2 separate regions of the Homo sapiens genome follow, and region 1 is linked to region 2. The links are contacts of gene promoters, found by promoter capture Hi-C in human tissues and cell types (Jung and others, 2019). All regions are on one chromosome and are shown on one strand. Each heading gives the region's core, a stretch centred on a gene start or on the middle of the fragment in contact. The rest is flanking DNA. Distances are from core to core; before and after follow the strand shown. Region 1 overlaps LOC105374007 (a long non-coding RNA gene). Region 2 holds the start of COL8A1 (collagen type VIII alpha 1 chain).

The links. Contacts are between HindIII fragments. The study calls those that stand out against the background at their distance.
Region 1: a fragment that was not itself captured here is called in contact with the fragment with the promoter of COL8A1 in region 2 in 1 of the 25 tissues and cell types used here (aorta).

The regions. Positions count from the first base shown.
Region 1 is chr3:99,475,613-99,482,356 of GRCh38, reverse strand. All of the region lies in intron 1 of LOC105374007 (a long non-coding RNA gene), which reads left to right. Among named protein-coding and RNA genes, the nearest start is that of COL8A1, 160 kb to the left of the region's middle. The HindIII fragment of the contact is 3,259 bases long and covers 125-3,383 here.
Region 2 is chr3:99,634,704-99,640,973 of GRCh38, reverse strand. COL8A1 (collagen type VIII alpha 1 chain) reads right to left here and starts at 2,380. Exons shown (of 4, transcript NM_020351.4): 1 at 2,310-2,380. LOC124909401 (a long non-coding RNA gene) reads left to right here and starts at 2,294. Exons shown (of 2, transcript XR_007095981.1): 1 at 2,294-2,387; 2 at 3,040-3,606. The HindIII fragment of the contact is 6,546 bases long and covers 526-6,270 here.

The sequences.
Region 1 (6,744 bases), core at 505-3,004, 160 kb after region 2:
TGGCCAAAGATATTTATATGGTTACACCTAACTTCAAGGAGCAGGGAAGTGTAGCCCTGTCAATTTCTAAGAAAGAAAACTAAGTACTTTGGTGAACAATGTTAATGACTACCAGACTGAACTTTAATTCATGTGAACCCCACTAAATTCTTACGTGTATTTAATTAAGAGTTTATCTGTCAAGTCCCTATGTCTTACAAAGACAGCTAGAGGCAGCTAGTCTTACACCCATACTTCTGGTAAATTGTCCTCTCCATAGACATGGAAATTAGCTTCAGTGTAGCAGCAAAGCTTAAAGGAGCAGGTGAGTAGTTAGCTAGGAGTATGCCACCATATCTAAGCCATTGGCTATAGAGTATCATCTATGGGATCATGCATAGAAGGGGCCAGGGAATGAGTTAAGTACAAGAAGGCACCCTAGTATAGTAAAAAATAAGACAGGGGTTGAAGTCAGAAGACCAGCTTTAGCCTCTAACTTTGCAGTTTACTGCATGACTGATTATGTGTCCATTGTTTGTCCTCTAGGAGCCTTAGTGTCCCCATATGAAAGATAAAAAATCAAATGGATATTACATGCAAAATACCTTGTGACTCATAATCACTATGTAACCATCACAGAAAGGAAGAATACATTATTCTGAACCCTGGGCTTGTCTGAGCTGTGCACAGATTTTAATGAATCCCTGATTCTGTCTCAGAAAATAGAATTACTATTTGGCATGGTACCAATCCATTTCTTTCTTTTTTTGAGACAGAGTCTCGCTCCGTCACCCAGGCTGGAGTGCAGTGGCTCAATCTTGGCTCACTGCAACCTCTGCCTCCCAGGTTCAAGCAATTCTCCTGCCTTAGCCTCCCGAGTAGCTGAGACTACAGGCGCGTACCATCTCATTCAGCTATTTTTTTGTATTTTTAGTGGAGACGGGGTTTCACCGTGTTAGCCAGGGTGGTCTTGGTTTCCTGACCTCGTGATCCACCTGCCTCAGCCTCCAAAAGTATTGAGATTATAGGAGTGAGCCACCACACCTGGCCTCCATTTCATTTTTATGTAAGTCAGCAACTCTAATTTTAAAAGTACAAAATGTAATACTAATAAAATGATATTTTATGATACTTTACAGAATTATTTCGTACCATAGCACCCAGAACCCATATCAACTGCCATCATCAAACAGAGAAAAAGACCCTAAGAAACTCAGTGAGTGATAAAATAACAGAACAGAAAACAAACTTCCTGAACACAGAAAATGAAGTCTCCCTGAAGGAAGGCAAAAGATAAAACAGAGAGACTAAAATGTAAATTGTTATATCTTTATGCCTGATGTTATAACATTAGAAGCCTATACATTATGTGCAACCACCTCCCTTTATTATATCACACATTTTCAGTATTCAGGAGCTCTTTTCTCATTCAGTAAATATTATTGTGAGCTTAGCAACTGTAAATTTAGGTTTGGAAATATTTTTGGTCGTTTTAAAAGCTTTAAGTCTTCCTTTCTTTCCTTCCTCCTTTCTCTCCCTTCCTCTCTTAGTTCTTTGTACATTTATTAACCATAGAGCTGCTTCGTGTCACGTGGAGTGCTGCTCTTAGGGATATCAATGTGCTTAGTGTATTTCCCTGCCCTAGAAGGATGCAGAAGCTAGAGATGGTAATGAGGTAGAGGCTGTAATATATGTATAAATAGGATGTTACAGGACCAAGAAAAAGAAAGTAACTGTGTTTAGGGAGGTCAGGAAGGGATTCACAGAAAAGGTGGCATTTGAGTTGAGTTTACTATGTGTGAAAGGTAGGGTAAGAACTTCTGTGTAGAGAAAACAGCTTGTGCTAAAGCACAACGATGAGAAATAGCCTCATGCATCTTGAACCTCACCTGATTAAAAGTAGCTCATACAGAGGATATTTGTGACAAGATGAGATTACACAGATAGGCAAGAGTCTGACCATGGTGGTCTTTATGGGCAATAGCCAAGGAGTTTATGGGGTGTTCTAAGTGGACTTTAAATAGGCAGATTTTAGAAAGAATACTAACATTGTTACTTAGTAAAAATGCACACATTACCCACAAGTGGGAAAAATACTGTTTACTTTCAAGTTTATAAATTTGTGAATTACTATATTAATCTATGTGTTGATATCTAAAATAACCTTTTACTTTGTCTCAACAACATTAGCAATATTACCTTCATAAAGCAGGAAATATCCTGTCCTGATCTCCTTTGGAGTAATTTCATAAAAAACATTGGTCTCTTTTAGGGAACCTAATCTACATACCCAGTATTTTAACTCCAAAGCATTTGAGTGTGATTCGTTTATTGGAGTTGTGCTTGACTTTAGTGTAATCATTACAAACACAGACACAGGGAATGTTCTTGAGATTTTTCCATTGTGTAACTCAGTGCTAAAAGCTTTCAAACAAATAAAGCTGGCATGCAATTTCTTTCTCTTTCCCATGCCATCTCAGTGGTGCCAACAACCCTAAGTGCTTAACAAGCTAATTTTTGATAGTCGAATAACCAAAAGTAATAGTTCTATGGTCTTAATTTTTCACAGTGAGTTCAACTTTGTTGCATGTTGTGACAATAAAGACCTTTGGAAAAAAGTAAGCATAAACTAATGACCATGATTCAGATACACTTGCAAGCTGGAAACATTTTGGTCATTGTAGCTGGATGCCTTAAAAGAAAACTCAGTAATACATGCTCTCTTTTCTGTAAGTGTAACATTTACACATTTATATCAGACTCATAGATTAGAAAATGCTTATAGTAAATTTAAATTGAATATAAACTATACTACTGGGATATTTTATTTGAGTATGCAACCAAATATCTTGATTATCTGTATGACTACGATAGTAACATGCACTCTATTTTTAAATTAAAAATGGATAAGACCAATAAGATGGGTAATATTTTCTGAGCAAAACATCAAATGATTGTCCTTGGATTCTGACATCACTAGGACATTATACCTGGTTCTATGGAATGGTATATAAAAAGCAAAATCTGATTTAGTGAGTAGAGAAAGAACACTTGAAAGTAAAGTTTAGTTGAATATAGGCCGAAGCAGATCAAAATGCTGTACGATGATGACATAAGCTTAACCTGACTTTTTCTTATCTCTGTAAGGCTTTTGTTTACTTCACCCTTACCGTGTTCATATTAAATGTTGGTCTCTTGGCCACAGCTAAAGTGCAAAATGGTTAATTCTTAGCACTTAAAATTCTAAGGGCTGGAATTCTGGTTTACATAATAGATTGGAAAAATACTTAGCTAGTCAGTTCACTAATGGTGTTCCTTGTGCTCCCCTCCTCCCTGCCAGCCATGGGGAAAACAGATGAAGGCTCTAAGATGGGTGATAACACTTCCAAGGTGAGGAGAAATGTTTCCTGTGGATATTTGCTGAATCCTGGATATTTTGTCCTTTGGAAAATGTAATTAATTAAAGGCACAGCCTACAGATTGGGCTTGGTTTAGGCATTGAGCCACTTCCAGGGAGAAAGAGAAACCAGCAAAGTTTTTGTTGGTTTGTTTGTTTTAGCCATTGTAGGAGGCCGGTGAGGGAAACTGGAAATTTTAGGGGCTTCTTCAAATGCTAATTTACCCCATATGACCTTGGCAAAATTATGGACATCTGCAGCCACACTGGAGGTTGAGAAAGTCATCTAAAAGCTTCAAAAAGACATACTGGAGGAGTACCTTAGGCACTCAATTAGTCTCTAAATAAGACATGTGCTAGACTATTAAGATGCCTGAATTGACAGGCTAAAGAACTGGGCTGGAAACTTATGAACGATAGAGCTGGAAATTCTGAAGTCTTTCAGAACTGCAGAGAAAGAAACCAATTAGGCTCTTAATTAAAAGCTTGAGATGGTCATTTTCAAGAAGATGACTGAAACAGATGTATACTGGGACTTATACAATCTATAGTCCAGCTCTAACCTATATCAATTCCTGACTCTGCAAAATGGTCAGCTGCTTAACTGAGTGACATAACAGAAGAAAGGGGAAACACTGTCTGGTGAAACATCACATTATTTGGAATCTCTTTATTTCTTTTATGCTTAATGTCTGACATACAATAAAATATTACTATACATGCCAAAAGACAGGAAAATTTTTATTAGTAATGAAGAAGAAAAAGATAGAAATAGTAGCAGACTAATAAATGATCCAGATATCAGAGTTACCAGTCAAAGCCTTTGTAATAACAATAATTAATATATTAAATAAATTAGAAAAAAGATAAAAAGAATAGGTGAAAGTATGGAGATTTTCTCCAGAGAATTATATTCTGTTAAATAAAAAGAAATAGATAATATACAATTGAAAAATACAATCTCCGCAATTAAGAACTCAATAGATGGATTTAACAGTAGATTAGAAACAGAAGTATACAGGACAAGTGAATTAAAATATAAGTCAATAAAAACACATAAAATTAAGATTAGGAAAAAATTAAAAGAAAAAATGAATAGAGATGTATAGGATGATCCAAAGGTCTAACATACATATAATAGGTATCACAGAAGTAAAAAGAGAAAATGGGTGGAATCACTATTTATATTTTCCAAACTGATGAAAGATAACAACTGAGAGATTCAAAAAGCTTTGAGAACCACAATTTGAAGATAAACAAAGCAAACTACACCACAGTATATCAAAGAATCTTCTGAAAACCAAATATAAAGAGAAAAGCTTACAGTTGTTGACTTAAAAAGAGAAACACTAAGACTGAAATCTAACTTCTTAACCAAAATGATGGAAACTAGAAAACAATAAAATGACATCTTAAAAATGTTAAAATAACTGCCAACCTATAATTTCACACACAATATTTTTATATCCTTCAAAAAATGAAGATAAAGATAGTTTTAGTCAAATAAAAAATAAAGAATTTGTCACTAGTAGGCCCACCTTTGTAAAATTAAATGAACTACTCTCAAGCTGAAAAATGATTCCAGACAACCTACAAAATGGGAGAAAATTTTTGCAATCTATCCATCGGACAAAAGGCTAATATCCAGAATCTACAAGGAACTTAAATAAATTTACAAGAAAAAAAAACCATCAAAAAGTGAGTGAAGGATATGAACAGACACTTCTCAAAAGAAGACATGTATGTGGTCAACAAAAATGTGAAAAAATGCTCATCGTCACTGGTAGTTAGAAAAATGCAAATCAAAACCACAATGAGATACCATCTCACACCAGTTAGAATGGCAATCATTAAAAAGTCAGGAAACAACAGATGCTGGAGAGGATGTCAAGAAATAGTAATGCTTTTACACTGTTGGTGGGAGTTTAAATTAGTTCAACCATTGTGGAAGACAGTGTGGCTATTCCTCAAGGATCTAGAACCAGAAATACCATTTGACCCAGCAATCCCATTACTGTGTATATACCCAAAGGATTATAAATCATTCTACTATAAAGACACACACCTGTATATTTATTGCTGCACTATTCACAATAGCAAAGACTTGGAACCAACCCAAATGCCCATCAATGATAGACTGGATAAAGAAAATGTGGCACATATACACCATGGACTACTATGAAGCCATAAAAAAGGATGAGTTCATGTCCTTTGTAGGGACATGGGTGAAGCTGGCAACTATCATTCTCAGCAAACTAACACAGGAACAGAAAACCAAATATTGCATGCTCTCACTCATAAGTGCGAGTTGATCAATGAGAACACATGGACAAAGGGAGGGGAACATCACACACCGGGGCCTATTTGGGGGTGGGGTACTAGAGGAGGGATAGCATTAGGAGAAATACCTAATGTAGATGACGGGTTAATGGGTGCAGCAAACCACCATGGCATGTGTATACCTATATAAGAAACCTGCACGTTCTGCACATGTACCCCAGAAATTAAAATATAATAAAAATAAATAAATAAAAAGAAAAAGAAAAAAAAGAAAAATGATTCCAGATGCAACATGAAAATATAGGAGAAAATTTCAAACTTCAGGAGAGTAATTATGTGGATAAATACAAATGACTAGTGGCTGTATGTATGAAACAAGAATTGTAATGTCATATATATTTGCGTATAGTATATATTATATATGAAAAAACCAGAATTACAGTGGAAACATATTATTATATTGCTGCAGGTAATGTAGTACTTAGAGAGAAACTGCAGCACTACAATTCTGATTTGGCATGTTTCTATTTTATTTTAGTTCAAAATGTTTTCTAATTTCTAGCTTAATGCTGTTGTGGTCAGAGAATATGCTGCATATATTAGACAAGAAGAAAGACTGAAAATCAATTATTTAAACTTACAACTCAAGAAGCTACATAGTAAAAAGCACATCAAAACTAAAGAAAACCTAAGAAAATAAATAAAAAAACAGAAATAAACAATGAAAAGGAGAAAAATTAACAACATTGAGGCTTGAGACTTAAAGTTGATAAAGTTTTAATAGGATTGATCAAGAAAAAATAAAGAATCCATAAGTTTTCAGAATTGAAAGTACACAGATCACAATACATTCAGTCAGATAATATTATGAACACTTTCTCCAATAAAATTACTGATTTGGATGAAATGGATTCATGACTCAAAAAACTCAACAACTTACTAATTTTGCCATAAGAAGAAATAGAAAATGTAAACAATCAGATATATGTGTTTAAAAAATTGGATTCTTAATCAAAACTTTTTCATGTTCAAATTCTTTCAAACATTTAAGAAAGACATAACAGCAATGTTGTACAAATTCTTCCGGA
Region 2 (6,270 bases), core at 1,131-3,630:
CAGCTTCTCATCTTATCTTTTCTGAGAAACATTAAGAAGTCCTCCCAAGTCTGCCTCAATGGCATTGGTTGGGTATAGTCATGGACTTGATCAAGAGGCAGCTATATAATGGCAAAAAGAGGAGACTCACGTGAAGTATCCACATCCCATGCAGAAGGGGAGATTTGGGGGCGACTACATGAAACTTCGACACTGATTTTTCTAAAAGCTTAAGAAGAGCAGTGTCATCTTGCTTGGTATGTACCCTATGGAGAAAGGATAGCTTTGCTCCTGGGAAACTTAGATCATGAGCAATCTAAGATGATCTCACTCAGTTATTTAGGGGCTTGAACTTGATGGGACATAGGGAAGGCAGTTACTGTTTAACGGTCCATAGCTGGTCCGGTGGATTAATTGCCAGAGAAAGCAGAAGTAAACCCTTGGAGAATACTTTTATCCCCAAACTTAGGAATAACTGGAAGCTCATTTAAACTGGGAGCATTTCCCCCTCCACCCCAAGAAAAGATAACTTCCCTCAAGGGGATCTGGTGAATGAAGCAGCGTATTTTCATCCTTGTGATAATGGGTGTGAGTCAGGCACTACCATAAAAGAAGAATTAACTTGAATGTGCCACATACTTGGTCTGGCCTTGTCCCATACCTGTACTCTTGTCATGGTTGATTACCTATGTGCATCAGATATAAAGCAAGCAGTCTGCATTGTGGCATGAGATAAAAGGTATGTTAATATGCTCAGGTCACATACTATCTTGGCCAATAGTAATTTTATATAATTTGCTTAAAGGAAACTGCACTTCTTGCAATATTTTTTTCCAATGAAGAAAAATTTAACGTGACAGAAGCTTTATATATAACTCTTGCATTTGAGTAACAGCATTGAATCCTCTCCATCTCAAGCAGAACTTTTAAATATTTTTATTACTTTTGATATGCAAAAGCTAAGGAGAAATGGTTTGGAAGACCTAAGTTAAATTTCTAATGAGTCTTGTTTCTTTAATAGGGGAGAATTTCATACAGCTTCGGTGAGTTTTTTCTTTCCACATGAGATAATATAAACAAACAAAAAAATAAAAAAGTGAAACATTTCTCTTCTTACTTTAAGAACCTTAAGGGCTAAAAGAGTGGTTTGGTTTCCTGACTGGTACTTTTGGTTTGCCTTCTCTAAGTGGTCTTGAGCAATTCCCCAGAGGAAACATTTGAAGAGGGTTTTTCTCCCACTTGAGAGAGTTTCATCCCACACAACCCACAGAATTTGATGGCAAACTTCATGGACCAAGTGTCTGGTTTTACAGAAGTGGCTGTGGAGTATGTTTTTCCTTTCACAGGTGCACATTTATTCTACCTTAGGAATAAGAAGAGATCATTTTCTTTTAAAGAGGGTAGCTTAAACACTGAATATCTCTGATAATTGGATGCCAGTCAGGTAGGTTGTGATTTACTAAATGCGGGGGAAAAAAGGTGGAAAGAAGGATTAAAACTTCCAAAGCCTTTCTCGCTGATCTTTCTTTACAACCATCTGGTGTGCACAGAAGTATTGTATAATCTGGCCTGTATTATTCTCTTACTGTGAAACATATTGAAACACTTTATGTTTAGGTGTGTGTACAGAAATTCATGAAGTTCTTTTATACACTTTCTTAGTTCCATCGTAATTCTCATTTTAGGATGTCGTGAAAAGATAGCCTGGTGAGAGAGCACATTCTACCCTGGCTTGTGAATTTGGATTTGTTCCTTCCTATCTACCAGCCACCTGATTACTTACTGTCCCCGTGCAAAGGGCACCCGTTCACATCATTTTTTTCCAAGCGCTAAAACCTGGAAAGATATTTTTTTAAAGGACTCACAGAAGCTGTCTTGGGGGTTTGGAAAACATCACAAAATTGTTAGCAGACCTTTTGACTGTGCTATTTTTAGGAAGTTAACTGTGTTCTTTTAAAGTACATTTTTGACAATGGGACAACGTTTTCCTTGCCCCCACTGATGTGTGAAATATGTACAGTGAAAAACGTCAGTACAACACCCCAAACAGATACATTTTAACCTAAGCAACAGTCAGCAACAGGAGAAAAAGTGATTTAAAAAGAGAAAGGTTTCGCAATATTTATGCTGCTGTTTCTTCCCTGAAGGAGCTTTTATTTTACCATTCAAACAGAAGTTTGTTTTCAAACCAGTTGCTAGTTAAAGGAGCAGCGGATCGCGCATCCGTAAGAATCAGCTCTAACCAAACAGCAAACGCGTTGGCCAGAGGGTGACTTATTCCCCCATAGCAACCCCTGGTAGGTGAGCTGCCTGCAGAAGTGCTGTCTTACCTTGAGCACGTAAGATCAGGGAGAGAGGCTCGCTGGCTCCCACGGAGAGGATCGGGGAAGGGCTGTGATCCGCTGCTGGTAACATGCACTTGGCTTTTATGGGCAGGTGGGAGGAGCTGCTCCTCATAGTAGGTGGGCAGGGAAGGAGCGGCGGGCGGGCAGCCTCTGGAGGAGCTGGACACTCTTCTCTGGGGAGGGGCGGGCAGAGACTGGAGCCCGCAAGGCGGAGGAGAGACGACGGGGCGGGGGGAGGGGGAGCGCGGTCACAACGGAGGAAGGAGTGGAAAAGGGAGAGAGAGGGAGAAGGGAAAAAAGAGAGGGAACTAGAAATAGTGAAAGGGATCTTGACCACAGATGGGGAAAGGTGGGGGAGAAAATGAATAGCAGAGACAGAGAGAGAGAGAGTGTCTGGGAGGAAAGGGGAATCGGAGTATTTTCCGTTTTTGCATGACATTTTTTGGCAGAGGGAGTTGTGGGTGATTGTGACTTTTGAAGGTGTTTTCTGTGAATTTGGGAATTTGAAAAGCTACATAGCGGTCCGGGAGAACTGAAGGGTTTCTAAGCGAGGCAAGGGAGGTGAAGCTGGGCGTCCGGGCAGCAGAGCCAAAGTTCAGGGTGGACCCGGACCTGGAGCTGGAGGCACTGACATGGCCTGGAGCCAGGCAGCCCCCAGCCCTCAGCCCCGTCCCACCGCCCGCGGGTGAAAATCGCCCCATCCCTCTCCCTCCAGGCAAGGCTTATTTGACAAGGAAGTTCCTGCGCTGCCTGTCCTCTGAGCATCCAGAGGCCCCTTTTGAGACTTCGGCAGCATTAAAGTAAATCCAGCAACGGGGAGGATTCGCGTGGACTTGCTTGTGGAGACAGGAACCTCAGAACCAGCCTGGGTCTTCCAGCATCTGCTTATGTAACGTAGGATTTCAGAGCTCTCTGCCCTCTGGTTATTTTCGGTATTTAAAACACTCTCATTCCTAACAATCGGAAAACGTCTTGGTGCCACAGTTCTTTCTCAGTGTGTCTTAAACATTAAGAGAGGATTCAACCAACAAGTGGCTAAAGGATCAGTCTGAAATTACTAAGAAATGCATTCAGAGAAAGAAAAACAAGCTCCTTTCGCTGCTGAGTGGTGACTCACTTCCTAGCCCAAGCCTGATTTTTGCCACCAAAGGAATTAAAGCATTTTAAAAGAGAACCTGAGACTTGGGGTGGGAGATACAGTACCGGGAGGGGGAAAAGGCGGGAATGGGAGGGGGGAGGGATGGGTAGGCTGGAAATAATAAAGGAACGAACTTGTACTGAATATGTATATATGTACTTCATTCAGTGTTCACCGCAACCTTATGAGGTAGGTATGATTCATATTGTGCAGATTTATTTATTTTTTTTTTAATTTAAAGAAAGGCATCTCTAAGGGTTTAAATAACTAGCTCAAGCTAGCGAGAGGGGGAGCCACAGCTAGCGAGCTTGCAAACCTTAGGCACTCTTCAGTACACCAGGCTGCCGTATAGAACACCTAGGTTCGTCTCAGGTTAGATCCTGATGTCATTGGCTGGTAGCAGGCTCCAAGAGAAGGAAACTTGATGGTGAAGAGCAGAATTACTCAAACTTAGCACTACTGAAACTTTCGGGAGAATATTTCTCTGTTGTAGGGACCTCTCCTGTGCACTGTAGAATGTTAAGCAGTGTCCGTGGCCTCTACCCACCAGATGCCAGTAGCAGTACCCACTCCGCACTCGCCACCCAGCTGTGAAAATAAAAAATGTCTCTAGATTTAGCCAAATGTCGCTGAGGGACAAAATCCCCTCCTCTTCTTAAGAACTATTCGTCTAAAAAAGGCCCACAACTATAAAAAAGCATTTTAAAAGAATCTATTAAGAAAATACCCAGTAGTGCCATTTGGATAATAATAATACCTACGTCCATATGTGCCGAGTTTACACAGCACTTAGGTTTTTACATACGTATTTCCATCTGTTAGCTTCAAGAGCTCAAAGCCTCAATTACTTCCTTTGTAACTAAGCTTATTCTCAATTGGTTACGTCTGGGAGTCAACGAAATAAACTCCCATGTGCCCGGGATATGAGGCAAGAACAATCATATATGAAATAAAAAATTTAAAATTTTTATCGTAAACACAAATTTGACACCAGAGTTTTCAAATTTACTCACGATGTTTTGCATTATTGATTATTCGCCTTTTTATAATTTTTTATCTCTATGTTCCCTATTCAAATTATATTCAATAATTTTTTGGCTGCACAAAGTTATAACTAGTGGCTTACTAGCTAGTAAAAAATAAGTGCTCAATAAATATGTATAGTCTCGCTAATTGAATAAACAGCAATATTGAGGACTGACAATAGAGAATGGTCAGCATTTGTTAGTTTAATGAATGCTTAGAAAGCTAAAACTTTCACATCAACTTTCTGCCCGTTTGCTGTTTGGTTTTACTCTCTTCTTACCCTCCATAACTCAGTTTTCCTCTTCCCAAATAGTATGTCTTTTGAGGATGTGGCCAAATCTACTGAGTGAAGTCTGTCAAACGAGTAACACTTGTTACTAGACCTAGAAATAGGACTGCATTATCTATTCTTGGACATAACGCTGAAATCAGATGTGATTTTACAAGCACAATACCACTTTTGGAACTTTTTAATTTAGCAAAGAAATGTGTTCTGGGGAAACAAAATGGGACTTTTAGAGGAGAAGCTGGGTGATAAAGTATGTTAGTAAATACCCTTATCAGATTACAACAAATCATCTTTTCTATCCTAAGTTAATTCTTCTCAAACATTCCAGTTCCATCACATACGTATGAAAAAAAAAAAATACCAGAAAGGCAAGAAAAGCACATTTGAAGAAAAGACAATTGATGGCTGTAGGCTGAATTTCTCTTCTTATTTTTAATTCTTTCTTCCTTTCAAACCAGCCAACATAACAAAAGCACTGCTTTCATTTTTTTGGATGGCACTAATAATTAGTTCATTTCTCCCATTCACACTTACCTGAATCTGATTCAGTAGCAGATCTGGACAACAAGTCAGGAATCCAGGAATGTCGTCTCTTTGCTGACTCTTAGTGTGCCCTTCCTAGAATCTCTCTGAAGGTGACTGAGGTTTGAAATGACCTAGTTTGGTCTTCTGTGGAAGGAAAGGAATCCAATGACAACATACTAGATGCTCTGAAGTTTCCATTGTGTGGCTATAACAGCTACAGATCATTACCTTACTTTTGAGAGCTTTGCAAATGTAACCCTTTTTTGGAGTTTATTTAGAATTAATCAGTTAACAAATATTTATTAAGAATGGATATCAGACAATGTGAGGTATTCAAAGCAGAGGAAAATATGACATCTTTTCTCACAGAGGAAGAAAAGCATGAAATCCTGATAGTTGAATTTTAGTAAAGAGACTTCAGGGAGGAGGTGGCATTTGAGCTGAGCCATGGAAAGTAGCATTTGAATAGACGAGTGATGGACAGTAGTACATTCCAGGCAAGGGAGGATATGTGTGCAACCAGGGAAATCACAGGAATATTCAGAAGGTGGTGAATTGGCCAGCATGACTGTATAGAAAGGTCCATGTGGTAGAACAATGAGGCTGAGAAATGGAGAGGAGGGATGAGGAGGGATGAGGTCACCTCAGTAGTCTGAAGTATAAACTATATTCTGTAGGCAATGCAGAATCAATGAAGACTTTTGAGCAATAGAATGGCATGGTGAAAGTGGCATATTTTCAAGATTTCATTTTTCTTTGAATATAGGGTCTTTATTGTGGCTTTGCAGATAAATGCTTGCCTGTGCATCTCAGACTGATAGCATACTTAGAAATAGAGAAAACAGAGTGTCTGCATCCTGCAGACTTGGAGGCCTGAGCAAGGTGGCAGAAACAGTAGTGGTTCTAGCCCAGTTTTCCCTGGAGTGTCCTGTATGGTTGTAGGAAGGGGGTAGGAAGGCAGGACCCTC